7 separate regions of the Homo sapiens genome follow, and regions 1, 2, 3, 5, 6 and 7 are each linked to region 4. The links are contacts of gene promoters, found by promoter capture Hi-C in blood cells and fetal thymus (Javierre and others, 2016). All regions are on one chromosome and are shown on one strand. The core of a region is centred on a gene start or on the middle of the fragment in contact, and the rest is flanking DNA. Distances in the headings are between cores, read along the strand shown. Region 1 overlaps CLN8 (CLN8 transmembrane ER and ERGIC protein). Region 2 holds the start of LINC00529 (long intergenic non-protein coding RNA 529). Region 3 has its middle 2.5 kb from the start of XKR6. Region 4 holds the start of MCPH1 (microcephalin 1). Region 5 overlaps TNKS (tankyrase). Region 6 overlaps XKR6 (XK related 6). Region 7 holds the start of TNKS (tankyrase).

The links. The method cuts DNA at HindIII sites, captures the fragments that hold promoters and counts their contacts. A CHiCAGO score of 5 or more calls a contact.
Region 1: a contact is called between a fragment that was not itself captured here and the fragment with the promoter of MCPH1 in region 4, in 1 of 17 cell types (naive CD8 T cells). The highest score is 7.6, in naive CD8 T cells.
Region 2: a contact is called between a fragment that was not itself captured here and the fragment with the promoter of MCPH1 in region 4, in 1 of 17 cell types (naive CD8 T cells). The highest score is 5.1, in naive CD8 T cells.
Region 3: a fragment that was not itself captured here is called in contact with the fragment with the promoter of MCPH1 in region 4 in 1 of 17 cell types (non-activated CD4 T cells); the score reaches 5.4 in non-activated CD4 T cells.
Region 5: a contact is called between a fragment that was not itself captured here and the fragment with the promoter of MCPH1 in region 4, in 1 of 17 cell types (naive CD8 T cells). The highest score is 5.2, in naive CD8 T cells.
Region 6: a fragment that was not itself captured here is called in contact with the fragment with the promoter of MCPH1 in region 4 in 1 of 17 cell types (total CD4 T cells); the score reaches 6.1 in total CD4 T cells.
Region 7: a contact is called between the fragment with the promoter of TNKS here and the fragment with the promoter of MCPH1 in region 4, in 1 of 17 cell types (naive CD8 T cells). The highest score is 7.4, in naive CD8 T cells.

What each region holds. Positions count from the first base shown.
Region 1 is chr8:1,764,965-1,769,102 of GRCh38, forward strand. All of the region lies in intron 1 of CLN8 (CLN8 transmembrane ER and ERGIC protein), which reads left to right. Among named protein-coding and RNA genes, the nearest start is that of CLN8-AS1, 2.4 kb to the left of the region's middle. The HindIII fragment of the contact is 1,260 bases long and covers 1,232-2,491 here.
Region 2 is chr8:11,280,563-11,284,603 of GRCh38, forward strand. LINC00529 (long intergenic non-protein coding RNA 529) reads right to left here and starts at 3,469. Exons shown (of 5, transcript NR_170283.1): 1 at 3,289-3,469; 2 at 727-859. RefSeq lists silencers at 391-440, 3,933-4,041 and enhancers at 3,223-3,312, 3,403-3,462, 3,738-4,041. The HindIII fragment of the contact is 2,523 bases long and covers 1,229-3,751 here.
Region 3 is chr8:11,202,187-11,206,480 of GRCh38, forward strand. No RefSeq gene overlaps it. Among named protein-coding and RNA genes, the nearest start is that of XKR6, 2.5 kb to the left of the region's middle. The HindIII fragment of the contact is 527 bases long and covers 2,516-3,042 here.
Region 4 is chr8:6,403,905-6,407,876 of GRCh38, forward strand. It overlaps MCPH1 (microcephalin 1), which reads left to right and starts at 2,723. Exons shown (of 14, transcript NM_024596.5): 1 at 2,723-2,785. The coding sequence starts at 2,764. It overlaps MCPH1-DT (MCPH1 divergent transcript), which reads right to left and starts at 2,644. Exons shown (of 2, transcript NR_040040.1): 1 at 1,802-2,644; 2 at 1-1,216. RefSeq lists silencers at 2,465-2,544, 2,805-2,984. The HindIII fragment of the contact is 9,682 bases long and covers 1-3,972 here.
Region 5 is chr8:9,576,480-9,580,649 of GRCh38, forward strand. TNKS (tankyrase) reads left to right here. Exons shown (of 27, transcript NM_003747.3): 2 at 3,680-3,904. Among named protein-coding and RNA genes, the nearest start is that of TNKS, 23 kb to the left of the region's middle. RefSeq lists an enhancer at 995-1,114. The HindIII fragment of the contact is 2,105 bases long and covers 659-2,763 here.
Region 6 is chr8:11,019,938-11,023,625 of GRCh38, forward strand. The region is part of intron 1 of XKR6 (XK related 6); the gene reads right to left. Among named protein-coding and RNA genes, the nearest start is that of MIR598, 14 kb to the right of the region's middle. The HindIII fragment of the contact is 1,460 bases long and covers 1,352-2,811 here.
Region 7 is chr8:9,554,121-9,557,980 of GRCh38, forward strand. TNKS (tankyrase) reads left to right here and starts at 1,792. Exons shown (of 27, transcript NM_003747.3): 1 at 1,792-2,492. The coding sequence starts at 1,820. RefSeq lists enhancers at 1,475-2,136, 2,137-2,796 and a silencer at 1,895-2,054. The HindIII fragment of the contact is 11,121 bases long and covers 1-3,860 here.

The sequences.
Region 1 (4,138 bases), core at 612-3,111, 4.6 Mb before region 4:
GTGAGAGGAAAGAGCAATGGTGCAGGAAGTGTGAGTGATTGAGGGAATATGAGATGGCCACAGCTCCCCACTGAGCTTGAACACTTCTGTGCCTCACTTTCAGATTGGCCGTCATGGAGGCTGTGGTTGTTAAGGAAGTTCTTCCTGAGCATCCAGTTTCCATACAAAGAGCACAGGTTCTCTAGGTGGCCTCAGAGATGTTCAATACACAATGTCTTCTGATAACGAGGAACTGGGCAAAAGCCTGGTAGGACACCGGGTAGGTAAATGGTGGAGTCCCTGCAACCGTGTTGCAGAGGAGGATTAGCTGTTGCTGAGAGAAGAGAAGCAGGCCGGGGAGCAGCTTGTATACTGTTATCCCCTTTTATGTAAAAAGAAGAGTTTATATCTAGAAAAACAATTGACCCAGCAGGCACCAAAAAATAGTGATGGTGCTTGGAGCTGTGTAAGAGGATTGTAAATTTTTATTTTTGTATTTTTATGCTTGTTTATATTTTCTGAATTTTGTGTATTAAACATGTATTTCTGTTGATTTTGGAAAACATTTTTACAACCCATCAATGTATAATTTTCAAAATGTTAGAAGTATAATTCTCATGTAAATAGCTCTTGTCAGGTTATATTTCAGTCATTAATGCAGTATACAGCAGGATAGGAATGTCAGTTCAAAAGAGAATACACAAAACTAGGATTTTCTTAGTGAGTGGGTAACAGGAATGCTGAGAGAAGATTGCCAGATTAGATAATAAGATTGGTGAATATCCTGTGTGCATTGAAACCACAGCCTTTGGGATTGTCTTTTCTTCTTGATGGAAAGGAGAATTAGCTTTGCAGATTGTAAAATGCGTGACCCACAATCAGTGGTAAATAGTTTAGTTATTTCTCCTAGAAAGTCAAGTGATTGTTGGGGTTGTAAAACACTGAACTTGCGTTAGCAGGGAAAAAAGCATGCAACCTTTTTTTTCCCTTTTGACGTCACTTCCAAGTTTGGATAAATTATCTCAATGAAAAACAAAAATGCTGGTATCCATAGCAGTTTAGCCCCCATAAACCGGAGGAGCGCATAGATGCATGACAGAGTCGAAGGGTTCCAGTGGCCACTGAGCCTGGTTCCTGGTCACACTGCAGCAACAGAGCTAACACTCTTACTGATGTGTTTGCATTCAGATTTTTAAAAAACTTCATGGCCCAGTGCAATAGAAGAGCTGAAACCACAGAATCTTATAAGACAAGCTTTTTGTATACATTTTCTCCAAAGAAAATGAAGATCTGCAGCGTCAAGAGATGGTGGCCTTCCAGGAGTTGTTTATTCTCCGGCTCCACTTCCTCTACTGCAGAGAGGAAAGGGGCTGGTGTGGAAGGGCTTGGAAGCCTTCCAGAATGAAAGAACCAGATGAGTCCATTAGGTTCGGCCTCCAGTTTTTTGTTTTTTTTTTTTTTTTTGAGACGGAGCCTCACTCTGTCACCCAGGCTGGAGTGCAGTGGCGCTATCTCAGCTCACTGCACGTTCCGCCTTCCAGGTTCCCGCCATTCTCCTGCCTCAGCCTCCCGAGTAGCTGGGACTACAGGCGCTCGCCATCACGCCTGGCTATTTTTTTTTTGTATTTTAGTAGAGACAAGGTTTCACCATGTTAGCCAGGATGGTCTCGATCTCCTGACCTCGTGATCCTCCCACCTTGGGCTCCCAAAGTGCTGGGATTACAGGTGTGAGCCACCCTGCCCGGCCGATTCGGCCTCCAGTTTTACCCATGGAAGGAACAGTGACTTCCAGCTGTGCATTACACTTAAGGACTCCTTCATGTGGCCTGAGCCTTATGGTGCACAGCAAGGGAACAGTGGGAACCCCTGTGTCCCATTTTGCGTATCAAGAGTGAGAGGGTGTGGTTGGGTCAAGGAGCAGAAATAGAAGCAAAAGGAGAAGCTGAGCTCTTCCCATACCCCTTCTGTGCTGCCTGACAGAACAAGGCCTAGCCACACTTCTGTGGGTGCCCACCTTGTGACTTGGGGTGAACCACAGCTGTTCTCAGTACAACGCTGATGCCACGAAAGGACAGCAGAGCTCTGCAGGACTCCAGGAAGACTGGGCGCTTGGGCTGGATCCTGCCTCTGGGACTGGCCTTCTACCCTCATGGCTGAGAGAGCTGAGGAGTTCACCTCCTTTGTGAACTCCTGGCTGGAGGATGCTGGTTGGCATTAACTAAACTCAGAGACCCACAGTAACGAGTTAGACTAGAACAGCACCAGCTTACCCAGAAAGTCAGGAGGTTTGAGCAAAGAATCAGAATGGGGGATTCACTACAGGACTGGAAGGGGAAGTAAGCATTCTGGTCTTTATAATCTGCTGTTTCTGCATCCCTAATTGGCACCTGTTCTCTGACTGCCAGGAGGGTTTGCCCACTCAGCTGTGGCTTACCTGTTTCTGTTTCCATGTCTTTCACCTATCTGCCACTTTTCTGTAGATATGGTAATCTCTCCAAAAAGATATCTAGAAAGCTTGAAGACCTGGTAGCTATTTGCTCTTATGGTGAAGATCACACAAACTAGTTGAACATCTGGCTTGTAGTAGGTGCTTCATTTCCCGCTGCTCTGTATGTTTCTTTCTTTTTTTTTTTTTTTTTTTTTTTTGAGACGGGGTCTCATCTTGTCACCCAGGCTGGAGTGCAGTGGCGCAATCTCAGCTCACTGCCACCTCCACCTCCCGGGTTCAAGCGATTCTCCTGCCTCAGCCTCCCAAGTAGCTGGGATCACAGGCATGTACCACCACGCCCAGCTAATTTTTTGTATCTCTAATAGAGTCGAGGTTTGACCATGTTGGCCAGGCTGGTCTCGAACTTCTGACCTTGTGATGCACCTGCCTTGGCATCCCAAAGTGCTGGGATTACAGGCGTGCGCCACTGCACTCGGCCTGCTCTGTGTATTTCTTTTTCCTGTAGTCAGATTCTGGGGTCCAGGGTGGTTAGGAAAGAAACTTGTTTTCTTTCTTTCTTTTTTTTTTTGAGATGGAGTTTTGCTCTGTTGCCCAGGTTGAAGTGCAGTTGTGTGATCTCGGCTCACTGCAACCTCCACCCTCCTGGGTTCCAGAAATTCTCCTGCCTCAGCCTCCTGAGTAGCTCAAATTACAGGTGCGCACCACCACGCCTGGCTGATTTTTGTATTTTTAGTAGAGGCAGGGTTTTGCCGTGTTGGCCAGGTTGGTCTTGAACTCCTGACCTCAAGTGATTCACCCACCTTGGCTTCCCAAAGTGCTGGGATTACAGGTGTGAGCCACCACACCCAGCCTGAAACTTGGTTTCTTAGCTCCTAAATAGTGAAATCAAGATCAGAGCCCACTAAGCCAGCCGCTCTTCTTGGTTTTTGGTTCTCATGTCCTGGAGTCCCTCTCACCTTGACCAAACCAAAGACCTCCTGAAGCATCACTTGGGCTCACCACTTCCACTGAGGTGGATTTGAGTCATTGATCTGGGCAGAGCCTTCTGGAGTCGGGGTTTCTCTCGTCTCAAGGCAGAGGTCCTACAGAAGTTAGTGGTCTTGGCCAAGCGGACATTGATGCAACTGTGGCAAAATGGGACCTATAAGTCAGAGCTGATGACCTACTCGTGGAAAAGTACAGGGAGAAGTTTTACGAGGGGTCCATATTTTAACCTTTAACAGTGTTGTTCACGTTAACCCTTGTAATGGATGCTATTCCTTGCCTGATACCTGTCCTTTCCACCCAGCCTGCTTTTCTTTAATGCTGGTAAGCGGTCTCCCCTCCAGGCATTAGGCTGCACTTGAAGTTGATCTGCTCCTGTGAAGTGCATAGGGGTTCAACGATGCCTTGCTGCACACTGAATACCAGAGCCGAGTGCTCTTGCCAGCCCCTTAATACCATGTTCAACCTGATTTGTCAACAGGTTAACAGAAATGTGTTTGGAGATGTGTAAGTACACTGGAGTCTTGATATATAGCATGACCAGAAGTGTGGGTCACGAGGGCACACATGGGCATGGCAGCCCCTCAGTTGTCATCCATAGCATCTATCAGAGAGCACGCCTGTGTGCCCTGAACTCACGCACCAGGGGCAGCATGACACGGGAGCCGTTTCTCTAGGGAGAAACATGAGTACCAGTGCTGTCTTTCCCCACATCAGATTTGTGTT
Region 2 (4,041 bases), core at 1,240-3,739, 4.9 Mb after region 4:
CACCCAGGCTGGAGTGCGGTGGCACATTCTTGGCTCACTGCAACCTACACCTCCCAGGTTCAAGCAATTCTCCTGCTTCAGCCTCCCCAATAGCTGGGATTACAGGCCCACACCACACCTGGCTAATTTTTGTAATTTTAGTAGAGATAGGGTTTCACCATGTCGGTTGGCCAGGCTAGTCTGGAACTCCTAACCTTGTGATCCACCCTCCTCAGCCTCCCAAAGTGGTGGGATTACAGGTGTGAGCCATCGTGCAGCATGGGGTTTAAATAGCCTCTAGAGGTTTCCCATTGGTTACTTGGTTACACCCTATGTAAATGAAGGAGTGGCCCGTCACAAGTCTGACTGATCATGGGAGGTGACCAATCAGAGTCTGAAGTGACGGTAGTTACAAAGTTACACATGAAGACTTGGCCTGCAACCAGTCTGAATGGTTGTGGGAGGGGACCAATCAGAGGTACTTTCCATTTTTCATTTGCAGTGCAGTGCAAAGGGAGTAGCCTCTGATCCTTTCGTTACATTCGTGTGAAGAGGTGGGGTTTCCCCTCTGATTCAGTTCTAGGAAGTCAGTGAGAATTGGCCTTAGGTTCCCTGCCTCTAGACCCTATTCTCCTGTCTCATTTTCCCGCTGTGAGACATGATCCCCATAAATCTTTATGGGAGGCAGAGGGACCAATGGTCTTTCTTCTGTAACTGCTTCATGCTGACTTGGGGTGCGGTGCCTACCTATTTGGGATCACAGAACTCTCACTCTGCTCTGTCTAGTGGATACAGGGTAGCTTCTTGATGGCCAGTAGTGGTGTCTTCACCTGAACTGGCTGGAAACCTTGTTGCATGATCATCTGAAGCTTGATGGTCTCTAGGCGAGAGGAAATTAATTTGGTTAATGTATTTAATAAATATGGTCCAAAAACCAAGGCAAGTATAATTAACAACGAGCCAGTCAGAGGAAGGACTCATGAACCCCTAATTAGCATTTTTGAACAGGAGGACCACGACTTGGACAGCTGTTGTCGTATCTTAGAAGCCTGGTCAGCTAATTTCTGGGTGGCATCCCTTACTAATTCTAATTGGTTGACATAAAAACAGCATTCTTCCTCTAGAAAAAGACATAAGCCACCTTTTCCAGCAGTTAGGAGATCCAGTCCCCTTCTATTTTGTAAAGCAACTGCTGCCAAGGAGTCTGTTTGAGTTTGTGTTGTGACGATACTTTGGGCAATGTCATCCAAGCTTTCCACAAAATCCTTGGAAAGTGCTGGTAACAGTATAGGGAAGTTGCAAGCCCGGTAACTCCCGTTCCTGCTCTCACTGTTATTCCTAGCCCAACAAAAAGGCGTTTGAGTTGGATTGCTCATTTGTGTCTGGCGGTTGCAGTTAAAGGTATAATGAGGGATTGGTTGTTGAGAGCTCTCCCTCTCTCTCTCTAAATATATATATATATATACACATATATATATAGTTTGTTTGTTTTGAGACAGTCTCCCTCTGTCACCCAGGCTGGAGCACAGTGGCTCAGTCTTGGCTCACTGCAACCTCTGTCTCCAGGGTTCAAGTGATTCTCCTGTCTCAGTCTCCAGAGTAGCTGGGATTACAGGTGTGCGCCACCATACCCGGCTAATTTTTTGTATTTTTAGTAGAAACAGGGTTTCAGCATGTTGGCCAGGCTGGTCTCGAACTCCTGACCTCAGGTGATCCGCCTGCCTCGGCCTCCCAAAGTGCTGGGATTATAGGCGTGAGAAACTGCGCCCGGCCGGGAGCTATATTGATTTCGGAGGCTAAAAACCAAGTGTACAGGTTCCAGTCCAATTGGCTGGTAAACACAGTAGGAACTGGTGCTGCACAGGGAAAAGGTTCCTTGTTTTTCAAGACAAAAATTGTTTTCCATGGTGAACATGTGGGTTAGCTTGTTGTTTTCACTTTCCCAAGTGGTTAAGTTTCCTACTAAAGTGGCCAAGCGAAAATGTCAACCCAGCTAGTGGGCCCACCTTCACAGTACTTAGACTGTGCATCCTTTAAAGTGCCCTTAACTAGGGATGGTTTCCATGAAAAGCATACAGGTTTTCTAAACGATGCAGTTTGGTTAATTGCATAGCTTACATGATTGTGTGAGGGTTAATTTCTGGGGTGTGGTTGCATTGAAGACTTCAAGTTCCCACGACCTGAACAGAATTTTGGCTTCTTTCAATACAAAGTGGCATCTGGAATTTTAGCTCTGTGTATGTTGATGTTGGGCCCCTAATGGGTTTCTGTGGGAATGCACCCTCAAAAAGGTTGCTCTGATTGGACTGGAGAGGGTTTACTGCTCATCCTGTCATTTTAACCTTTGTCATTTCCATACTTTTGAAGTCTTATAAGTCATCCAGATTCATTAATTCAAAGGGAGTTCCTCCCTGGTAGTTGGAATGATAGGTCATTTTTTTCAAGGACCCAAGATCGGGCTGGGATAGGGATGGCAGTGTATCTGGATGAAGATAGGAGATAAACAAAGCCAACAGTCCTTTGCCAGAGCTGAGCTGGTGGTATTTAACAGTCTTTGCATTAAATTTAAAGTTCTTAATAAATACCCAGAATCTATTAATTGCCAGAGGGGTAAAGTGAAGCTCTGTTGTAAAATAAAGCTGATTCCCTGTATGCGGTGTCCCTGTGTATACTGGGTGTATACTGGGTGTCCATTATGGAACAAAAAAAAAATACTTATTTGCTATTTTGTTCTATAGAATGGGAACTTCAGGGGGTGGATACCTGTGCTGTCAGGAATGCTAGTTATAAAAATGAATTAAAACACTTCATATATTACAAAGGAAGTGATTCCATCTATTTGGACGAAAGCAATTAAACTGCAAAAATATAAAAAATGGCAACTATTATTCAGTCTACAGTAACTATGCAACAAAGACACCAAGGAAAGTTGGTAGGCATTTACGTATCTCACTTAAAACAAGTCTATAAAGTGGTTTATTTTAAGAAGGGTACATTTTAAGAAGGACAAAATCAAAAGCATGGACAAGTGTTGGATGAGCTGATGAGGTTGTGGCAATTTACTTTGTGAATACTGTGAGAGTTTGTCCAACTCGCTGTGCTTAGGTACTAGATGGTGAGGATTTAAAAGGTCAATGAAGTCACAGCAGACCAGCACTCAAACATATTTCTCTTCTATTTCCTACTTTTGAATAAAAATGTCAGAAGTGGGCGGTGGGAAAGGAACAAGCAAAGGAGTAATTATTTGAATAAATTTTTGGCGAAACGTGGGTGTCTGACGGGGAGGCTGTGCGGTGGTGACCAACGCACCCATGCGCTGGGTTTCACAGATGCAGACTGAAGTCCAGGCTCTGCTGCAGATTAACGGGGTGGCCGCCAGCAAGTCAAGTGACTTGCTCTTCTGTGCACTGCATGTACTTGGGTTCCTCTCACAGGTATTCCTGTTTTTCCTCTTTCTTGCTCCAGGTTACACCTCGTGGCGCGGCGCTCTCGGAGAGCCTGTGGAGTGGCCCTGTGTCCCTCCCTGACCCCTGGAGGATTCCGTAAGGTCACAGTCACCGCCTCCATCCCCTACTTGCCATGTCTTCAGGGCTAATGCATAACAATTATCACAATTTACAGCAGCCCCACGCTCTGAAGAGCTTCTGGAGGGGATACTACTCAAGCGGAGGAAGGCAAGACAGGGACCTCCTCCCTCTTCCCGGACCTCTTCTGATAAGGAATATTTGTAGGTGGTTAAGAAAGGCAGCGGGAGGGCGTGAAGGCAAAGACAAGCTTTTTTTCTCGTAGGAACACACATCTTCTGGTCTGGCTGTGTTTCCGGAGGCATTTCCAGAGGACCTAGCGAGGACCAACTTCCGGCTGCGACTTCCGCGTCTTCCGAGTTTCGAGACCTGCTGCTTCCGCCCGGAGTTGTTGTGGGCTCCAGCAGCGAGTAGCCACTTCCGCTAGGAGTCCCTAGCGGCCAGGGCGTGGAAGCGGATTCTGAGGCGGCTTTCTCCTACTGCCCTCCGCTTGCCAACGCGGGACCCGGAGCCCAACGGCAGCGGCGGTCCTTGGGCC
Region 3 (4,294 bases), core at 1,529-4,028, 4.8 Mb after region 4:
CATTACCTTAAAAAAGCTTCAGGCAAAATTCAATTGGAAATCAGCCTGGTTGGGTCTTACATGTTGGAGCAAGGAATGAATGGGCATATTGTGACCTTGAATATATTTTCTGCCCTATGGAAATATATTCTACCAACTTTTTTTTTAATATGCAATTTTTAAATTCTGTGATCTTAATTTGGAAAATGCAGAACTAGCCAGGGCTTAACCTGTATCAATTATTTGTTCAGGTTATTTAAATGTGTAAGGAGTGCCTTTTAGAATTTTTTTGGTGCTAAGGCGCTGTGGGTAAACATTGCTTTAAATAAGGAAAAAAATGTTATCAATGTGCTATATCATTAAAGTAGGTGCAGGATACACTACTTAAACTTAGCTAACAAATTACAAAAGTGAAACAGCACTGAATGGATTTGAATTACAATGATCTTCCAGTGAAAGTATTTTTGAAGCCAGATAGCCAAAATAGGGCAAGCTACATGGTTACAGTTGTTCCTGATCAGATGAAATGAACATTTTACAGTTAAAAAAAAGAATGAGGGGGAAAAAAATCCCTGAATTTTCTCATTGACTTCCCTAGATTTTTGAACTCATTTTTGTGATTCTGTCTACTTCTCCATTCACTAAAGTCTTCTAATAATGCCAATAACTGTCTTTAGAATGTTAAGAGTACAAATTAGGTAATATTTATATGGCTGGAGGTTCTATGGCAGAAAGGTGCGTTTGACAACTTCAATAGTTACTTTGATACTATTGAATACTATGGCACCTATGAGTTTTGGGAGTGGCAGGGTAGATGGGGATACTACATTTTAGGACACAGCTTTTCATGAGTATATATGCCAGTGTGAAATCTCTGAAGACTTTAGAAAAATTACTAATAGTGAATTTTTACTCCCATACATTGGGAAGAGGGGAGTGATTCCAAAATCAACTTTTAGAAACCAGCCATATAACTGTATCCATGTATTTCATGCTATGATTTAAGCCTCATACTCCCTATGGTATGTAAAACTCATACTCATATGTAAGCCTCATACTCCCTATGGTAGTAAAACTTAAGGCCAGCAGGTAAAGATTATTTCTGCATATAGATGGGATTCTGTTTCTTTGCTGAATTTGAATGAATAACACCTTACATGGCATAAATATAGAGTAGGATTGCCCAGGTATGAACCCCAATTTCACTAAAATAGTAACATGAATAATGTGAGCAAGATTACCTCTTCAAATCTCAGTTTTCACCTTGATATAATAGAAATAACAACAGTGACTTTTCTGAAAAGTTGCTGGGCAGAGTAAAGGTGGTAATCCTTTCAAGGATCTCAATATGATACCTGATAGGCAGCTAAGCACTAGAGAGTAACTGCTATTATTATTACTGTTGTTATTATTATGTTTGCATAATACTGACATGTTTCTACTTAAATTCTATCGCTGAGTGTATTTGGTATCTCTAATAAAAGAAAGCATTTTGAAATACTTCTAGAAAATAGGTGCAATTAATTTGTGCTTTCAAATATATTTTCTCTATTTAAGCTACGAGGCTGTGAAATGAGATACAAAAGCGGGCAGTAATGGTGTATTTATGATTCCTATTTCTGTGTGCCCTGAAAGAACATAAACTAGTGAAATTAGCTAAGTAAATTACACTCGCTATATAAGGCTGACAAATGAGCTTATGAGTCAAAAGTGTTTATTACAATTGAAGTTTCAAGTAGATATGTAAGATTCTCAGACTGTCAAGTGACTTCAACTTTACATTTGCTGTTTCAACAATTTTGTCCTTCTACTTTCTTTGGAAGAAGGATACATTATGGAACCCAGAAGGCTCTAAAATCAGTTACAATGATAATAAACCTCTCATGAAGACTCACTGAAAAGTTAACATAAATCTGGACTGTGCTTTGGATGGCACACTTTTACCTAGAATTTTGGGGGTGATTTTTGTTCCAAGTAAGCCAGCACTTAGCACAATGCTGAACACATAGTGGGCACTCTATAAGTATTGATTAAATTAGTGCAAATTAATTTTCCAGATAACTGAAATTTCACCTTTAAGTGCCAAAAAAAATGTATTTTACGTTTTATGATGTAAACCTCCATAAAATTCAATCATTACGGAGATACCTCAAAACTTTAAAGTGGGGGGAAAGTGAAAGAAATGCATTGCCCATTGGCTTGTGCTCTGCACATCAGGCAGAAAGTTGACCTTTTCTTGACAACTTGACCTTGAAGTGGCCTTATGCTAAGAGGCTCTAACTATTTATGTGCCTGTGCCGGCCTGCTAAGCACCAACTGTTGTTGAGGTTGGTGGTGGTGGTGGTAGCAGTGGTGGTTTTTTCTAACAGTATTTTTTAATCTCTGCTTTCTTTGTTTATTCAGTTAATTAACAACTTTGGCCCCTGTATTTACACTTTAATATAGACAGAGAAGCCAAATAACAAAGCATGTTGGAGTTACATGTAAAATAATACTAAATAGATTTTTAGAGCCTCTTCTATGAGTAAAGTTAAAAAGCTTTAACATACAGAAATTGTGACATAAATTTTAAATGTTTAGAAGCCCTTTGGGGTTTTTCTTCCCAATTCTCTATTTTCAGAAAGGCACAAAGGAAAGTTAGTGTTGAATGCTATTATGTACTAAACAGTCTCCCATACGTGACTCCTTTTAATTATATGGCAGTCCAAAAACGCATGAGGATTAGTATTCCCATTTTAATGGTCTAGAAAACAGACTCGAGTCTGCCAAATGAGTTACCCAGAGTCACATGGGTAAGGGGAGCCATAGATTAGAATCCAGGCAGGTGTAATTCCAAAGCCTGCTACTTACCCTGCCATTGTCCTGGGCCAGGCAGCTACTGGCACTTCCAAATGAAATTAGTGTTACTGTGTTAGTCAGAGTAGGGACCCTATTACAATGCTGGTATGCAGCTAGGAAACAGAACACCTCAATTCCAATATGGGGATAGGCCTCAGCAAAAGCATTACAAAGAGGCTGTCTTATACATTTTTCGTAAGATTTTCCTAGTTTGAGCCTACATAAAGCTTCAAAAGAGTAGGTGGATGTCATCCTCATCAATTCTGTGCCTTGTATCTTATTGACTTCTATAGAAACAGGACTTCTTTGAGTGCTGAGGAGTAAGCTCATAGAACCCATTATCCCTGGAAGCTACATTTCTGTATTCGATGTTAAGAATTGAAGTGTTAGCAAGCACTCTCATACTTTGTTGCTGGTGGTACAAAATGGTAAAATCTTTATGAAAGGGAATTTGGCACTACTTACCAAAATTTCAAATGCAGGTACCCTTTGAGACAGCCATCCCTTTTATGGGACTTTATCTTACAGATAAATACATAGATGTCAGAAAGTATGTGTGTACAAGTTTATTCATGTAGCATTGCTTACAATTGAGAGAAAGAATGGAAGGAAAAAACCCACATGTCCACCCAAAGGGGAACTAGTTAAATAAATTATGGTACATCCACACAACAGAATATGGTGCAGTGATGTTGAAAAATGATAGTTTTCTTTTTAATGATATACAAAGAGTTGCAGGATGCTTTGTTACACAAAACTCAAAGTGCAAAACAATAGAACATGCTGCATTTTCTGTAAGAAAGGGGAAGAGATAAGGTTATCTTTTCTTATTTGTTTGTATTTGCATAAAGCAACTCTGGAAAGAGACCTAAGAAACAAAGTGATTACCTGTAGGGTGGTGGTAATGGTGGAGAGAAATGCTGTGAGTAGGAACAAGGATGGGAGAAAGATAATAAATGTTTGGGGGGAAGTTTGGGGAGGTCGCAGGGAATATGCACCCATATGTAGTGTCACAGAGATCGGTAAGAATCGGCGGGGGTAGGTACATCTGTATTCTCTAACAGCAACATCACTGAGGAGTATTTTGTGAAGTTTTTTGTCTCTTAAAAACTAGTTATAACTCCGACATCTGTGAATTGATTTAAACCCTTCTTGAGCTTCTTTATATTTTTATCCACTGTATTGTCTAAGTAAGGATAAAAAGCTTCATGTATTTACTCCCCAAAGAGCAGAGTACAGTGTAACTTTATCATACGTACACTTACCGTGTGTGGAGTCAACTAATCATGCCCAACCAAAAGAAAATAAGGATCGCCAGGTGCAGTGGCTCACGCCTGTAATCCGAACACTTTGGGAGGCCAAGGCGGAAGGATCTCTTGAAACCAGGAGTTGGAAACTAGCCTGGGCAACATAGCAAGACTCTGTCTTTGAAAAAACAAATATTAAAATTAGCCTGGCATGGTGGTATGCACTCATA
Region 4 (3,972 bases), core at 1,473-3,972:
TCCCTACACTTTGGGAAGCTGAGGTGGGAGGATTGCTTGAGCCCAGGAGTTCAAGACCAGCCTGGGCAACATAGTGGGACTCCGCCTCTACAAAGAATTTAAAAAATGAATTGGGCATGGTCATGTGTACTTGTAGTCCCAGCTACTCAGGAGGTTGAGGTGGGAGGATAGCTTGATCCCAGGAGGGTCGAGGCTTCAAGATGAGCCATGATCACACCATTGCACTTCAGCCTGGGAGACAGAGTGAGATCCTGTCTCAAAAAAAAAAAAAAAAAAAAAAGAAGAAAAAAAGAAAAACAAAATAAAAAAACAAATACTTAGGTTAAAATCTAACAACAGTTATATTTTTTTTTTTTGAGATGGAGTCTCGCTCTGTTGCCCCAGGTGGAGTGCAGTGGCAAGATCTCTGCTCACTGCAAGCTCTGTCTCCCGGGTTCATGCCATTCTCCTGCCTCAGCCTTCCAAGTAGCTGGGGCTACAGGCGCATGCCACCACGCCCGGCTAATTTTTTGTATTTTTAGTAGAGATGGGGTTTCACTGTGTTAGCCAGGATGGTCTCAATCTCCTGACCTTGTGATCGGCCCGCCTTGGCCTCCCAAAGTGGCAGGCGTGAGCCACTGCGTCTGGCCAGAGAAATTTTAAAAGACCTAAATGTTAATGGGTCAGAAGATTCAATATGGTTAAAATGTCAATTCTCCCCAAATTCATCTGTAGAGTCAACACAATCTCAATCAAAATCCCAGCAGTATTTTTTTGTGCAAAATGAGAAGTCGACTCTAAGATTTAAAAGGAAATCTGAAGAATCTAGAAGATACAAAATAACCTTGAAAAATAAAGTTGTAGGACATAAACTATCTGATTTCATCACTTATTTATATAGCTACAATAATCAAAACAGCATGGTGCTGGCAGCAAAAAGACAAATAGCTCAATGGAACACAATAGGAAGCCTAAAATGAAACACATACATATGCAACACAGATTTTGATGTAAGCACAAAGGAAATGCAGTAGAGACAAAAATAACTTTTTAATAAATGATGCTGGAACATTTGGATATGTATACATGCAAAAAAATGAACTTTGGTCCCTATCCCATACCGTATACAAAAATTAATTAAAAGCAGATCTTATCCTTTGAGTCCAGTAGGTTGAGGCTGCAGTGAGCTGTGATTACACCACTGCATTCCAGCCTGGGCAACGGAGTGAGAAACTGCCTGGAGAAAAAAAAAAAAAAAAGTAGAACCTAGACCTGATATACAACCTAAAGCAGTAATATTTCTAGAAGAAATCCTAGGAGAAAATATTTGTGATCGTGGAGATGAAGAATCTATCAAATACTAAACTTTTTTTACCACCTTGACCAAAAGTAATTGGTTTATATACTTCATCATATCATTTAATTCAAAATCTACAGAGATCAATGTCACTTTCTCAGTAAAAGTACGTGAGTCTTCAATGATGCCCTGAACTCACACTCCCAAGTAAACCATAACACCATATTTCCAGAGTAGAGTTTATTAGAACAATAACTGGTGATAATGATAAATATTGATCAAAGACTGAGCCTAGGAAGTGGGTTTTTTGAGGCTGCATATACTCAAGGCAATTCTTCAGAACCACAGAGGGCTCATTGGATCCTATTAAAAGCTGAGAGTGAATGAATAAACAGATAAAACAGAGACCTGAGTAGACGGTAGTCGATATTCTTTTACATGTATTCTACCTCTAGATTCCATAGAAAGAACTAAAAGTACATGAATTTCACTACCAACATCTCCATCAGTTACCAGCTGTATCACCTTGGATCAGTCAGGTAACCTCCCGCGAATCTGGTTGCTTCCGGGGCAGGGGATCCGCGGGCTGCAGGTTTGAGCCTGGTTGCCGGCAGGGTGGAGCAGCTGGAGGGCCAAGCCTTTGAGCTCCAGGGGGGGTGGCCGGGACAGTGGGTAGTGCCAGCCGATCGGCGTCCTGGGGATTGCCTGAATGTGAGGTCTGGGTTCACCCCGCGGTGACCTGAGTCCTGGGATGCCCCTACAGGGATTTGCTGCCTCAGGGATCCGAAGTCTCTTTCATTCCCTTACTGGGGATTTGAGGTCTGGAGGTACTCCTGCGGGGGTCTGAGATCTCGGGGTCACCCTGTGGGGGTCTGAAGCCTCGGGGTCCCCGCGTGGGGTCTGAGGTATCAGAGTCCCCTCCGTTGGGTCTGAGGTCTCGGGGTCCCCCATCCCCGGGATCGGAGGTCCGGCTCCCCGGAGCAGGCAGGGCGGTGCGTCTGGCCCTGAACAGTAACGTGGCGCGCCAGCCCCAGGTGGTGTCGGGCTAGGGGGGCATAACGGTGCCGAAAGTCCGCACAAAGCCGTCCGCTGGGGTCCCGCCGCGTCCGCGAGGGAATGACTGTGCCCCCTCCCCTTCCTGATCCTCAGCTCAGGTGAGCCCAGATGAGGCGCCGGGTAGCTTCTAAGTCACTAATGGAAATAGAAGGCTAATTCAGGGGTTAGGGGCCGTCGTCCTCCTTACTCCCAGGAGAAGAGAAAAACCCACGGCCCAGCAGCCAGAGGCGCGGCGAGGCGGAATCGGGCCCCCTCCCCGGGGGCTCAGCTCCCTCCAGCCTCCCGCCTCACCTACAGAGAAATCCCGGAAACGCGGATTCAGCGGAGCGCGGTGACGGCGGCGCGCTCACCCCGCGCATGCCCAGTGCCCGCGCGCGCCGCCAGGCTCGCAAGCACCGCGTAGGCCAGCTGGCCGGATCCCGCCGTCTGTCATGGCGGCCCCCATCCTGAAAGGTGAGGTACTTCCTGCTGCCTGCTCCAGCAGCGGGAGTTTGAGGACCGGCACCCCTCGTCGCGGGCGCACTCGGGGGATCCCGTGGGAGGAGCCCCGCTCGCCCCTCCCTCGCTGCCTGTCTCCCCCAGACCCCCTGCCGCCTCCTTCCTCCCCCGCTGCCTGTCCCACCAAAACCCCCTGCTCCTGCTCTCTCCCCCGCTGCCTGTCCCCCCAAAACCCCCGGCTGCCTGCTTCGTCTCCCGTGCTCCCTGTCCCCCCAAACCCCCGACTGCCTGCTTCCTCCCCCGTACTGCTTGTGCCCCAACCCCCGTGCTGCTAGTTCCCCTCAATCCCCCGCTGCCTGCTCCCTCCCCCATGCTGCCTGTCCCCCAAATCCCGCCTTTCCCCCTACCTGCTTTCACCCCTGCTGCCTTAGTCCCTGGATCTGGGGCTCACTGGCAGGCAGAGTCCTGCCCTCCGGAAGTTGGTGTGGGGCCCTCCTGGGTCTGGTCCTGTTCGACCCCCTCTGAGGCCCACCTGGAGGAGCGGCAGTTGAGTTTCTATGCTAATTGTTCCAATAATAGGAGCCGCCTTTTACTGCGGAGTCTTTGTGTGCCAGGCGCTGTGCTTAGGCTAGTATGGTATTGTCTGATTTTTTTAACCGCTCTATCAACTCTCTTATATCATTTTACAGGCAGAAACTAAGGCATCGGACGTTTAGGTGACTCTCCCTGTGTGTGGCTAGTCAGTGCTGACAGGGCCTTAGACCGGAGCTGCTGTCCTAACCAGTATATGATACCGCACGCAGTCCCACCCTCTGTGCACCTGGAAGAGCCCAGGAGAGGGGAATAGCGGACACGTGTCTTGTAGAGTTTGACCGTGAGAAAAAAGGGGCCTGTATTGTGGGGCCTGGAGTCATAAAACCTCATAGCCAAAAGTAAAGACTAGAGGCTTTATACAAAGTCTGTAATCAGATGTGGCTATTTTTCTAATGTTAGTATTTTGTTAAATTAACCTGGTTTTCTTTTAGCGTTACCCCCAATCATTGACCAACGGCACACCTGGAAAATGCTTTTAAACATCAGGTTTTGAGAAGAGGATATCCACTAGAACAGGGGTCCACTCACTATGCCCCCCAGGCCATATCTAGCCTGCTGCCTGTTTTTGTAAGGGTCTACGAGCTAAGAATGTCTTTTACATTTTTAAG
Region 5 (4,170 bases), core at 461-2,960, 3.2 Mb after region 4:
TTTTTTTTTGAGATGGAGTCTGGCTCTGTTGCCCAGGCTGGAGTGCAGTGGGGCGATCTCGGCTCACTGCAAGCTCCACCTCCCTGTTGCCACCTACTTTTAAATCTCCAGATGTCATGAGAATTCACTCATGTGACAGCACTAGGGTGATGGTGCTAAACTATTAGAAACCACCCCTGTGACCCAATCACTTCCCACCAGGCCCCTCCTTCAACACATGGGGATTCCAATTCAACATGAGATTTGGGTGGGGACACAGAGCCAAACCATATCAGCCAGAAGAATGGATTATGGTTATCAACCTTCCACTAATATAGATTGAACCATATGAAGTTGACAAAAATAATGTGAATATATGAAATATATTCTAATCACATAGAATATGAAATGCATAATATACAAATAATAACATGAAATGTATAAAATATAAATATAGAAACACAAGTGTTTAAAAAACACACATTGAAAAGTATATAATTTGCATGATATAACAAACATTGAATTTATGTAATAGTACCTCTGGGGAAGCAAAGAGGGGACTAGGATTGAGGGTAAGAGTTCAACTGTATTCATATATTTAGTTTTCAACAGTAAAAAAGCAAATATCTGAACTGAAAAATGTAAATAACAATTCATTTTTTTTTTTGCCTCTTTGTAAAGCTTTTAAATGTGCACGGAATGGTCACGAGGATTTTGGTTGAAAATGAAAATTGGTAGAGGGCAACTTGGCAACATGTGAAATTTTAAATGTATACCTATTGATCTAGTACTACTACTTTGAGGCATTTATCTTAAATGAATAGGACAAATGTACAAGGAAATTTATTTTGACTTTTTTTTTTAGTAATGGTAAAAATGTTTTTATAATGGCTGTGTTAGTCCGTTCTTGCATTGCTATAAAGAACTACCTGAGCCTGGGTAATTTATAAAGAAAAGAGATTTAACTGACTCACAGTTTTGTAGACTGTACAGGAAGCATGGCTGGGGAGGCCCCAGGAAATTCACAGTCGTGACGGGAGGTGAAGGGGAAGCAGGCATGTCTTATATGGTCAGGGAAGGAGGCAGAGGAGAGCAGGAGGAGGTGCTACACACTTTTAAACAACCAGATCTTGTGAGAACTCACTATTACGAGAACAGCAAGAGGGAAATCTGCCTCCATGATCCACTCACCTACCACCAGGCCCCTCTTCTAACACTGGGGATCATAATTTGACATGAGATTTGGGTGGGGCCACAAATCCAAACCAAATTTTTTGGTCCCTGGCTCCTCCCAAATCTCATATCCTTCTCATATTTCAAAATACAATCATGCCTTCCCGATAGTCCCCAATAGTCTCAACTCATTCCAGCATTAACTCAAAAGTCCAGAGTTCAAAGCAAAGCAAGTCCCTTCTGCCTGTAAAATCAAAGCCAGTTAGTTAGTTACAAGATACAGTGGGCGTACAGGCATTGGCTAAATACTCACATTCCAAAAGGGAGAAATCAACCAAAACAAAGGGCCTGCAGGCTCCATGGACTTCGAAACCCAGCAGGGCAGTTGTTCAATCTTAAAGTTCCAAAATAATCTCCCTTGACTCCACGGCTCACATCCAGGCCACACCAACACAAGGGGTGGGCTCCCAAGGCCTTGGGCGGCTCCACCCCTGTGGCTTTGCAGGAGTCAGCTCCCATGGCTGCTCTCAAGGGCTGGTGCTGATTAGGGAAATGGAAGTTTGCACTCAGGCTTTATTCAGATCCGTAGAGAAGGAGAATAATTCAACCTTCCTGGGTCAGGACAGCACTTATGGCCCAGTGGAAGAGTAGGGCATTGATGGTAGAGGGAAGGAAGTCGAAGTTAGAGAATTAAAGAAAACCTAACATCCGTAAAGTTCTGCAGGTATTTAAAAAACAAAACCAGGAACCCTGGTAAGATGCTGACAGTTTACTTGAGCATGTACCCTATGCTTTTACTGATTCAGTTACTAATACAAAATTGATCTTTTCACCTAAAATTATCAGCTTAATTTTTAAGGATATTTTCTACGGAAACCTCATTCTGACTTTGTAATACATATCTGTGGAAATGTATGCTTTACTTTGGAGACTTTTTCTTAGAGCCTGCTTTTCTGGAATGAATGAATTTCTATAGATAGCATGGAAGACATATCTTGAGATAAATTTCTTTTTTCCCCTTACTCTTTTCCACATGGTTTTTATTTGTTTAACATATGCCCAAAATAAAGGAAGATGTGACTCTTTTACTGTCTTTTATTTTTATTTAAGATGCCATTTTGTAACAGTATTACACAATAATAGTAGAGGTAGTGATACCTAGTTAATAAGACCTAATACAATTTAAAGTGGGAAAGAATCATTAATTAAGATTCTAGCTTGTGAATATAAAAATGCGAATATTTGCGGTTTCCTTTTATAACCCATTGCAATTTAGTTTGTAATTTTACCACTATACTAAAATTAGTTTAATATTACCAATGGCCATTGTTTTCTTCTCCGTTGATCTCATTAAATCCTCATGGTACTGGACTTTGCATAATGTTGTTGTTCCTTGACTTCCACGATGTTGATGTTGTGCTTTCTTAGTATTTCTTACCTTTCTAAGTGTTTGCCTCATCCTTAGACTACTTGAGACTCTTTCTGACTCCCCCTAAACCCCCATTTTTGTCTGAAAACTGTGATACTTCTTATAAAATTCTGGTTTTATATTCCCAAGTGCTTGTATTCCCACTCATTTGCCATATCGTTTCCTCAAACTAAGTGAATCCAAGCTTGAATTGTTCCAGTTCACCACCCATTTCATATAGTTTGGCCACTAGCCCCAAGAATAGATATTTTGGCATCATCTTTAGTTCTTCCTTTTCAAAATTCCCTTTGACCAAGCGTTCACCATGTGTTTCTCATACCCATACATTCATCCCCAATTTCCCTAATACAATGCTGTGTGTTGTGATTTGTCTTAGATTCGGTTATCAGCAGTATTTATTTATTTATTTTTATTTTATTTTATTTTATTGAGGAGTCTCGCACTATTGCCCAGGCTGGAATGCAGTGGCGTGGTCTCGGCTCACTGCCATCTCTGCCTCCCAGGTTCAAGCGATTCTCGTGCCTCAGCCTCCCAAGTAGGTGGGATTACAGGTGCCTGCCATCACGCCTGGCTAATTTTTGTGGTTTTATTAGAGACGGGGTATCACCATGTTGGCCAGGCTGGTCTTGAACTCCTGACCTCAGGTGACCCGCCCACCTCGGCCTCACACAGTGCTGTGAGGGTGTGAGCCACTGCGCCCGGCTTATCAGCAGTATTTAAATAACCCTTGTTTCTATGAATGTAGTGATGAGTTTCTATATACAGTTTTGTGTTGTGAAGCCTGAGGGGAAAGTGAGTTCCTGGATAAGTCTTGTCATATTTATTTTGTGTTTCTAGCACTGTTGCACAGCACATATTAAGTGTTTAGAAAATGTTTTTTGAATGAACAGCCCAAAGACTAAAGGAAGAGCTTCCTTAGTTCTAAATTCTGTGAAATGAGTCAGTTTGAATGAAGCTAATGTTTCTTTTGTTTTACACCATTTACTATAGAGTGCAGTACTTCAGTTGTTCATACTTGTTGATATTGTTACAGATATTCTAATGGTTCTTTTTACAAAATCAAATATATATACAAGACATTTTTTCGTTTCTTTTTAGGTTTTGGAAGGAAGGATGTTGTAGAACACTTACTACAGATGGGTGCTAATGTCCACGCTCGTGATGATGGAGGTCTCATCCCGCTTCATAATGCCTGTTCTTTTGGCCATGCTGAGGTTGTGAGTCTGTTATTGTGCCAAGGAGCTGATCCAAATGCCAGGGATAACTGGAACTATACACCTCTGCATGAAGCTGCTATTAAAGGGAAGATCGATGTGTGCATTGGTAAGTATCATTTGATGATATCTAAATTTTAAATAAAGGTTTATTCTTACTTTTTTTGTGGTACAAATAGTGTTTCCTGAGAATAGGTAAGGAAGGGTTTATTGCTTCTTGTAGAAGCAGTTCTTTTCCATCAAAAGGTAAACAGAGAGATGGTAATCTAAAGTTACTTAGGGGAAGACTCACAACATTAACTTTCCAAATGCAGTCAAATGCCTATTGATGTGGAACTCAATTTTAATGGATTACTATTGTCAAATTTAGTTAAT
Region 6 (3,688 bases), core at 832-3,331, 4.6 Mb after region 4:
ATAAATAGTGGAGGAACCGCCACTGATAATCCACTGGAGAGAAGGGATAGGGCACTCTTCCCCCAGGAAGGAATGGCAGGCCTCTCCAAGGAACAGCGGGACCTGTCAGAGCAGAGGACAGGAGATGGTGGCCTCATCCCCACCCACCCAAGGCCCAGTCCCCTTTCCCTGTCTGTGAAGTGCTTGCTTCTGCCCTGACTCCGTGGAGCATGGGGACTTACAGGGCAGGCATAGGATGAGGGGACTTCAAATAATGGTCTTGGGAGTTGAGTTCAGGCTCTCAGTGGAGCCAGGGCTTGGCCAGAGTTCATATGATTTCAGTGTAGGAAGCCGACACCGTCTGTGCATCCCGACACGGAAGCACAAGTCCACTCTCCTGTCACTCAGCCATCCCTCCAGAAATGCATCCATCCATCCATCCATCCAAATATCTAGTCATTCAGTAATTCATTTGACAAATAAGAATTGAGTCCCAATGATGTGGCAAGCCCTGTGCTAAGTTCCTTGTGACCTCACCTGTAAACGGTGCTGCTTCTCCCCGTCCTTCTTAGGGTGCTTGTAAGAACCCATCGAGGAAAGAAATGTGCTTGCAGCCTGGGAAGTATCACACATGTATCGGTGAGTTGGGGCTTTGACAGAGAGAAGCCTTTGGGTGCTTCCAAGAAGGGAACACCCCAGCCCCTAAGAGCTTCCTTTCCCTCCTTTGGTCCTCAAAATCTCAGCCAAGGAGGCCTTGATTGGCATTCATGGGCTATGGCTTTTCAGGTCAACTTTGAACTCTTACGCCTTTTTCCTAATATGAGGGTCTAGAATGTAAATTTTGAGATCCTTACTGAAGTATGCTTCCCCCTAAACTTGCTGTGTGCACTTGGGCAGGCCAGGTGACCTCTCTGTGCAACAGTTTCATCCACTGTAAAATGGCAGTGACATGAGTAACTATCTCTTAGGGCTGTTGTGATGATCAGAGAGTCAGTATATGTGAATTGCTTAGCATAGTGGCTGGCACAGAGTAGGTACTATCTAAGGGTGAGCTACTTGTGGAGATGATGCAATCTGGCCCTGGGAAATGGGGGTTCAGGCTCACCTTTTACAAAGGGACCCTAGGGGGTCCTATGAGGCAAATGCTTCTGGCTTTAAGATACGTCAAGCCTTAGTCTCCTCAGATTTTAAACCATCTCCATAAAACAGCTGTCCTAGGAAGGAATCTTGGGCTTCTCTCAGAGTCTCAGACCAGAAACTCTGTGTCCTAAGACACTGCAGCCTCTTACAGGAAGGCACTGCAGGTCTCACAGGGAGAGGAAGAGTTATACAGAACCCTGTCTTCCCTCTTCCTACACTCATGTGGGTAAAAAGCTTAGATTTTTCTTGCACTTGGAGTAGAACAAGGGGTACAGCTAAAGTGATGGACTGCTGAGAGTTTCTAGCTGCTGCTGGATTCCATAAGTTCCATCGGATTAAGGATGAGCTTAATGTATAATGTATAAACCCATGGACAGAGACACTGCCTTGTTTAAGCAATGGTTTACATTCATAACACAAATATAAATGGATAGTCATTTCTTTCTTCAGGGCCCAGCACAATTCATTAGTAGCTTCTAGCCTTTTGTCCCTTTCAAGCAGAAAACAGACCCAGCTCAGAGAGCAGTGGCTGGGTCTGCTCAGGACCCAGGAGCCCAAAGCACACAGGATCCCAAACGCTCCAGAGTCCATAGAGACTTTGTTGTCAAGCACATCAGAGATCATGACTGCTATATATTCTTGGTGCTTCTTTTCATCCATTCAGAGTCTCAAATGTTCTCTCTTCACTTTCCTGCTTCATTCAACTATGCTAAGACTGACAGCCTCCTGAGATACTAACGTGATAAGACACAATCCCTGCCCTCAAGGAACTTTAGGGTAAGCCTGTCTCCCTGACCTTGGCTTCCTGAACTTAGCCTTGTTCCATATAAACCTTTTTCCTCCTTCCTACTTTCCTCCCACCATCATTGCTGGCTGGTACCAGCTGCTTACTTTGTGTTTCTAGTTGCATTTCCTTAGCCTCTGTCTCCAGCTGAGCACTGGACTGCACACTGCAGAAAACAAAGGGGAAGAAACAAAGGCACTGGCCTGAAGGAGTTCATGGCCCACTGGGGAGCTTTTTCAGAAATATAACCAAAGAAGCCCCTGCCCTGGAGAGCTTTCAGTCCACAGACAGTGCATCCTAGATAGAAAGGGGCCCTCTCTTAAAGAGGTCCAACCCTTCTCATTCATGTAACTATGGCACAAAACAGTAGGTGCCAGTAGCACAAACAGTTCAGAGAAAGATGCTGCAGAGTGCTGTTGCCTTAGCATCCCTGGGAAAGGTGCATGGGCTGTAACCAAGCCCCATTGTTCCACCTGGGTGATCATGGCCATTGCTAGGGGAGAGCAGATTTACATGTGGACACAGGTACTTATGCTCTACCTGCAGCGACCCAAAACTCTCTTGCTGTTCAAACATGTCCAAGCAGTCCCCCTGGGTCCAAGGCAGAGGGCCCACTCCAAGTGGGAGACCACAAAATGACCTTATACAAACACCAGAAATTAGGTCTTAGACACATGAATGGGACAAAGACTAAGTGTCAAAATCCCAAACTCAGTCAGCAGCCAATGGGTGAAGCGGGCGGCAGGAGCAGAGGAGAATGCATGCGCTTCCTCCAGTGTCATCTTTTTCCATCCCTACGACCCACAGAAGGGTGACATTATTCCCCTTTTACAGATGCAAACACTGAGGCCCAGAGAGGTTATCTTGCGCAAGGCCCTGCAATTAGTAAGTGGTAGAACCAAGACCCAAGCTTTTTATTTTTAAAGCTGGGTCTTTTCAACTATACCATTCAGACTACAAAAGCAGAGAAATATTTTCCACTTTTTTATTTGTTATAAATATTTCATTGATCAACATTTAGTTCCTCAGGCACCTGTGTAAGGTCCTCCACGTCCCAGGGCAGGAGGCCCGGGGCTCTAACTCAAGGCCGTGACCCACAGACACACAGGAAAGGCAGTCCCCTCCCTCCCTTCCTGGCCACAGCAGGGCTGGTGCTGCGGTGTCAGCGCTCCAAGGTATCTGTCGAGGCAATTTCAGCTCCAGTTTGCTCAAACTCCAGACCAAAGGCTCAGTCGCAGACTCTGATGTGCCGAACAAAACCAGAGACAGGAACTCGTCTCAATCACTGAGTCAGCTGGCGGTGAGAAAATGGGCAGGTGGAAAGCTGGGGAGGGCCCTCCCTCCATGTCCCCATTTCCTAGACTGAGCTGGCCCTGCATTTTCTGCACCCAGGGCTGCTCCCAGAGCAGGCACTAGAACCCTCTGCAGATCCCAGACCCTGTTCTGCCCTGGAAGCAGTGAGGCACCTCACAGGCCCCCGAAGTCATCTGAGGCTGGTGGCTGGAGTGCAGTGGCATGATCACAGCAAGAAATCCTCTAACCTCAGCCTTCTGAGTAGCTGGAACTCTAGGCAGTGCCACCACACCCGACTAATTTTATTTTTTGTAGAGATGGGGTCTGGCTGCATTGCCCAGGCTGGTCTCAAACTCCTGGGCTCAAGGGATCCTCCTTCCTCAACTTCCCAAAGTGCTGGCATTACAGGTGTGAGCCACTGTGCCACCTGGGACTGCTTTCTAAAGAGATTTTCTATCTTAGAATCTGTGGGGGCCACTTGAGGAGGAGCTG
Region 7 (3,860 bases), core at 542-3,041, 3.1 Mb after region 4:
AGAAGCATGAAGAAGAATGTTGTGGACTGATTTTAGTTGCACTGATGTGAGTTTTCCTATCCAGCTACACTTTTTGTCCGGTGTCTACTGCGAACAATGGCACATTTCATCACACAGCTGGATAATGTTAAGAATTATAATCTGTAACCCCAGATTAGATGAAAATAAATGCCACTCGTAATACTAATTATGTTCCTGACCTTATTGTATTTACTTACTAACCCCAAATAAACTCATCTATTTACTTAAATGGGAATATTAACATCACATAAATCATATTTAACAATGAACACATGAAACAATTTATCACCTAGTTTAATATTCTGCTTGACTCATCTAAATCTTGTTTCTCTTACAGAATTTCCATCTGTGTCCACTCTATTGGAATAATGCTGTTTCTGTATACTTCTACAATGCCTGCTTTACTATTGAACAGTAGGTATGAAATGGAGTCCTCAATGGGATTATCTCATTCATGGATACATCTTTTGATAGTAGAAAAACAAAAGTATACATAGGTTGGGGGAAAGACAGAAAAAGCAGTTGCTGAAAAATAGCACCTGATGGTGAGTAATGGACAGCAATCAGGTTTTTGTTATGTTTTCTTGTTGTTTTTGTGACAGGGTCTCCGCCCTCTGTCACCCAGGCTGGAGTGCAGTGGTGTGACCTCGGCTCACAGCAACCTCTGCCTCCCGGGCTCAAGTGATCCTCCCAACAGACTCCTGAGTAGCTGGGACTACACGCATGTGCCACTTTGCCCAGCTAATCTGTGTATTTTTTGTAGAGATGGAGCTTCGCCGTGATGGCCAGGCTGATCTTGAACTCCCGGGCTCAAGTGGCCCGCCGGCCTCGGCCTCCCAAAGTGCTAGGATTACAGGCATGAGCCACCGTGACCAGCCTAGCAATCAGGTTTTTATCTGTTTCGGGTGTGGGAGAGGCTAAGCTAAGCCAGAATTCAAAAGAAAGGAATATATTCATAATTAGTTACACTTAGGGTGAAAAATAAAATTTCAGAGAGAGCAGAATAGGAAAAAAAAATCATAATTTTAATAATTCACACTTATTGCACTATTGTTATTTCAATTTTACAGAGAAAAACAGGCATAGAGTGATGAAATAGCAAGTACATATATAAACAACAAATGGCAGAGCTGGAACGCCAATCCTAGCAATCTGAACCAGCATTTAAAAACGAGGAATTAAAGCACATAGGGTGAGAAAAATTATAGGGAAGGGACAAGAGCTCAAGGGGACACCTGGAAAAGAAATACTATAATTTAAAAAATTACCAACGGGCTAATTATACTTGTGTTTTACTGGCAGAGCGCTTTGTCTGTTAGCTCTTTTAATCCCGCTAATAATTCTGTGAGGTTGGTACTATAAGTTCCATTTTTCAGACAAGGACGCTTAATAGATGATAACGGACACATTCCCTGCTTGCTCTGATCTGCATCTCAACAGCTGGCTCTGGAGCAAGCAAAGGGAGACTAAGGGAAACAGAGCGGAGCAGGGCAAAGAAAGCCGACTGAAAGTGAGAAATGCAGGAAATGTTTCCCATCTAGGCAGAAGCTGGTTCCAGCATTCAAATCTCTCCAGCCGGCCCGCCACCACGTCACAAAGCCCGCCTCTCAGTGACAAAGCCCCGCCCCGTTCCCTTGGCTGTTCTCTGAGCTCCCAATACTTCCCTCCTTCTCTTTGGCCCCTGCTACCCCGCCTAGCATCATTTCCTGTGCGCTGGATGCTGATTGGTCCGACAGTCGGAAGTGAGGGCGGGCGGTGGGGGCCGTTGCCGCAGTGACAGTGCTAGGGGAGTCCGAAGATGGCGGCGTCGCGTCGCTCTCAGCATCATCACCACCATCATCAACAACAGCTCCAGCCCGCCCCAGGGGCTTCAGCGCCGCCGCCGCCACCTCCTCCCCCACTCAGCCCTGGCCTGGCCCCGGGGACCACCCCAGCCTCTCCCACGGCCAGCGGCCTGGCCCCCTTCGCCTCCCCGCGGCACGGCCTAGCGCTGCCGGAGGGGGATGGCAGTCGGGATCCGCCCGACAGGCCCCGATCCCCGGACCCGGTTGACGGTACCAGCTGTTGCAGTACCACCAGCACAATCTGTACCGTCGCCGCCGCTCCCGTGGTCCCAGCGGTTTCTACTTCATCTGCCGCTGGGGTCGCTCCCAACCCAGCCGGCAGTGGCAGTAACAATTCACCGTCGTCCTCTTCTTCCCCGACTTCTTCCTCATCTTCCTCTCCATCCTCCCCTGGATCGAGCTTGGCGGAGAGCCCCGAGGCGGCCGGAGTTAGCAGCACAGCACCACTGGGGCCTGGGGCAGCAGGACCTGGGACAGGGGTCCCAGCAGTGAGCGGGGCCCTACGGGAACTGCTGGAGGCCTGTCGCAATGGGGACGTGTCCCGGGTAAAGAGGCTGGTGGACGCGGCAAACGTAAATGCAAAGGACATGGCCGGCCGGAAGTCTTCTCCCCTGCACTTCGCTGCAGGTCAGAGACTTTTGAATTGTTTATTAAGGGTTATGGGTTTGGGTGCAGGGTCCGGTTAGGACAAGAAAACAGGTTATTGTGATGGGACAAAGTGGGGGCGTGGTTATGGTTCTTCATCACCTCACCAGAAGACTGGAGGTTCCTTTCTTTTGGTGGTGCCTGGGTGATGGGGGCGTGGTTGGGGGGGATAAGTGAATCCAAGGAATTCTTCAGTGGTTGCACAGTACTCATTACAAAACTCACTGTAGTTGGTAGTCTCTGCATATGGATATATTTACACTTTAGTTTTTGGTGTGCAGGAATACAGTTAGATTTGGACAGCTTTAGAGTAGTTTTGTCGTTTGTGTGCTAGTTTATTTTGTTTTTACAAGGGTATGTCCTTTGAGGACAGTCCAGACCAAAAGAGGTTTAATACAACCCAACACATGTTTGAGGATCTATTGTAGCCTTAATAACCCAATGAAAGACATAAATGAAGTGTTTGAAAGTTTCCCTTCTTCTAAAGAAGTTTGCAGTCTAGACGGGGAGACCAAAATATGCCAATGTGAAACAACTGGAGAAGAATATTTGGATGCATTATATGATGATGGAAGAAATATAGGCTTTGATGTTGTGGCCACTATTATTTGTTGTCTAGCAGACCATTTACCTCGTGTCAGTTGCCTCAGTTTTCTCATGGGCAAAAATCATAAAATGATGTTGTGCGAGCATTTGGTGAGAAGTATCTGGCACAAAGTTCTCCCTCAAAAAGTGTGAATTTCTTAAGCTCTGGACCCCACACTTGTCTTTTTTTTTTTTTTTGCAAGTAGTTGATGATTTTCTCTCAAAGACACCTAATAATATGTTTATAAAATAAAGAGAACTGTAAAATAAAAACAAAGGACCATAATCTCACTGCCTGGATACCTATTGTTGATATTTTAAAAATGTAGGTAATAATGTTTTATACATTAGAAACATTATATTGGAAATACATATATTGTACGTTATACAATTCAAATAGGACAGAAAAATACAAAATGAAAGGCATCACACAGAAACATCAGAGATAACACACCAGAGATAACTTCTGTTAAGTTTCTCCTATATTTCTAATATATATATATATCACTTCTTCAGTTTGTTCTGTTAACAGTAAAACATGTGTTGACCCACTGTAGTATTTATTTTTACCACACTTGGGAGATATGATTAACCATTTTACAGATGACAAAAGTGAAGCATATATCGATCGCTTAAATAAGTCCAAATTCAGTCAGGAAATAGTGGAAATTGAGTTTGAATTCAGGCAGTTTGATTTTAGAGCTTGTGAAATCAAACTTAAACTGTCAGAACCCTGGATTAAGGTCACTTTTCATTTTTGTGAGT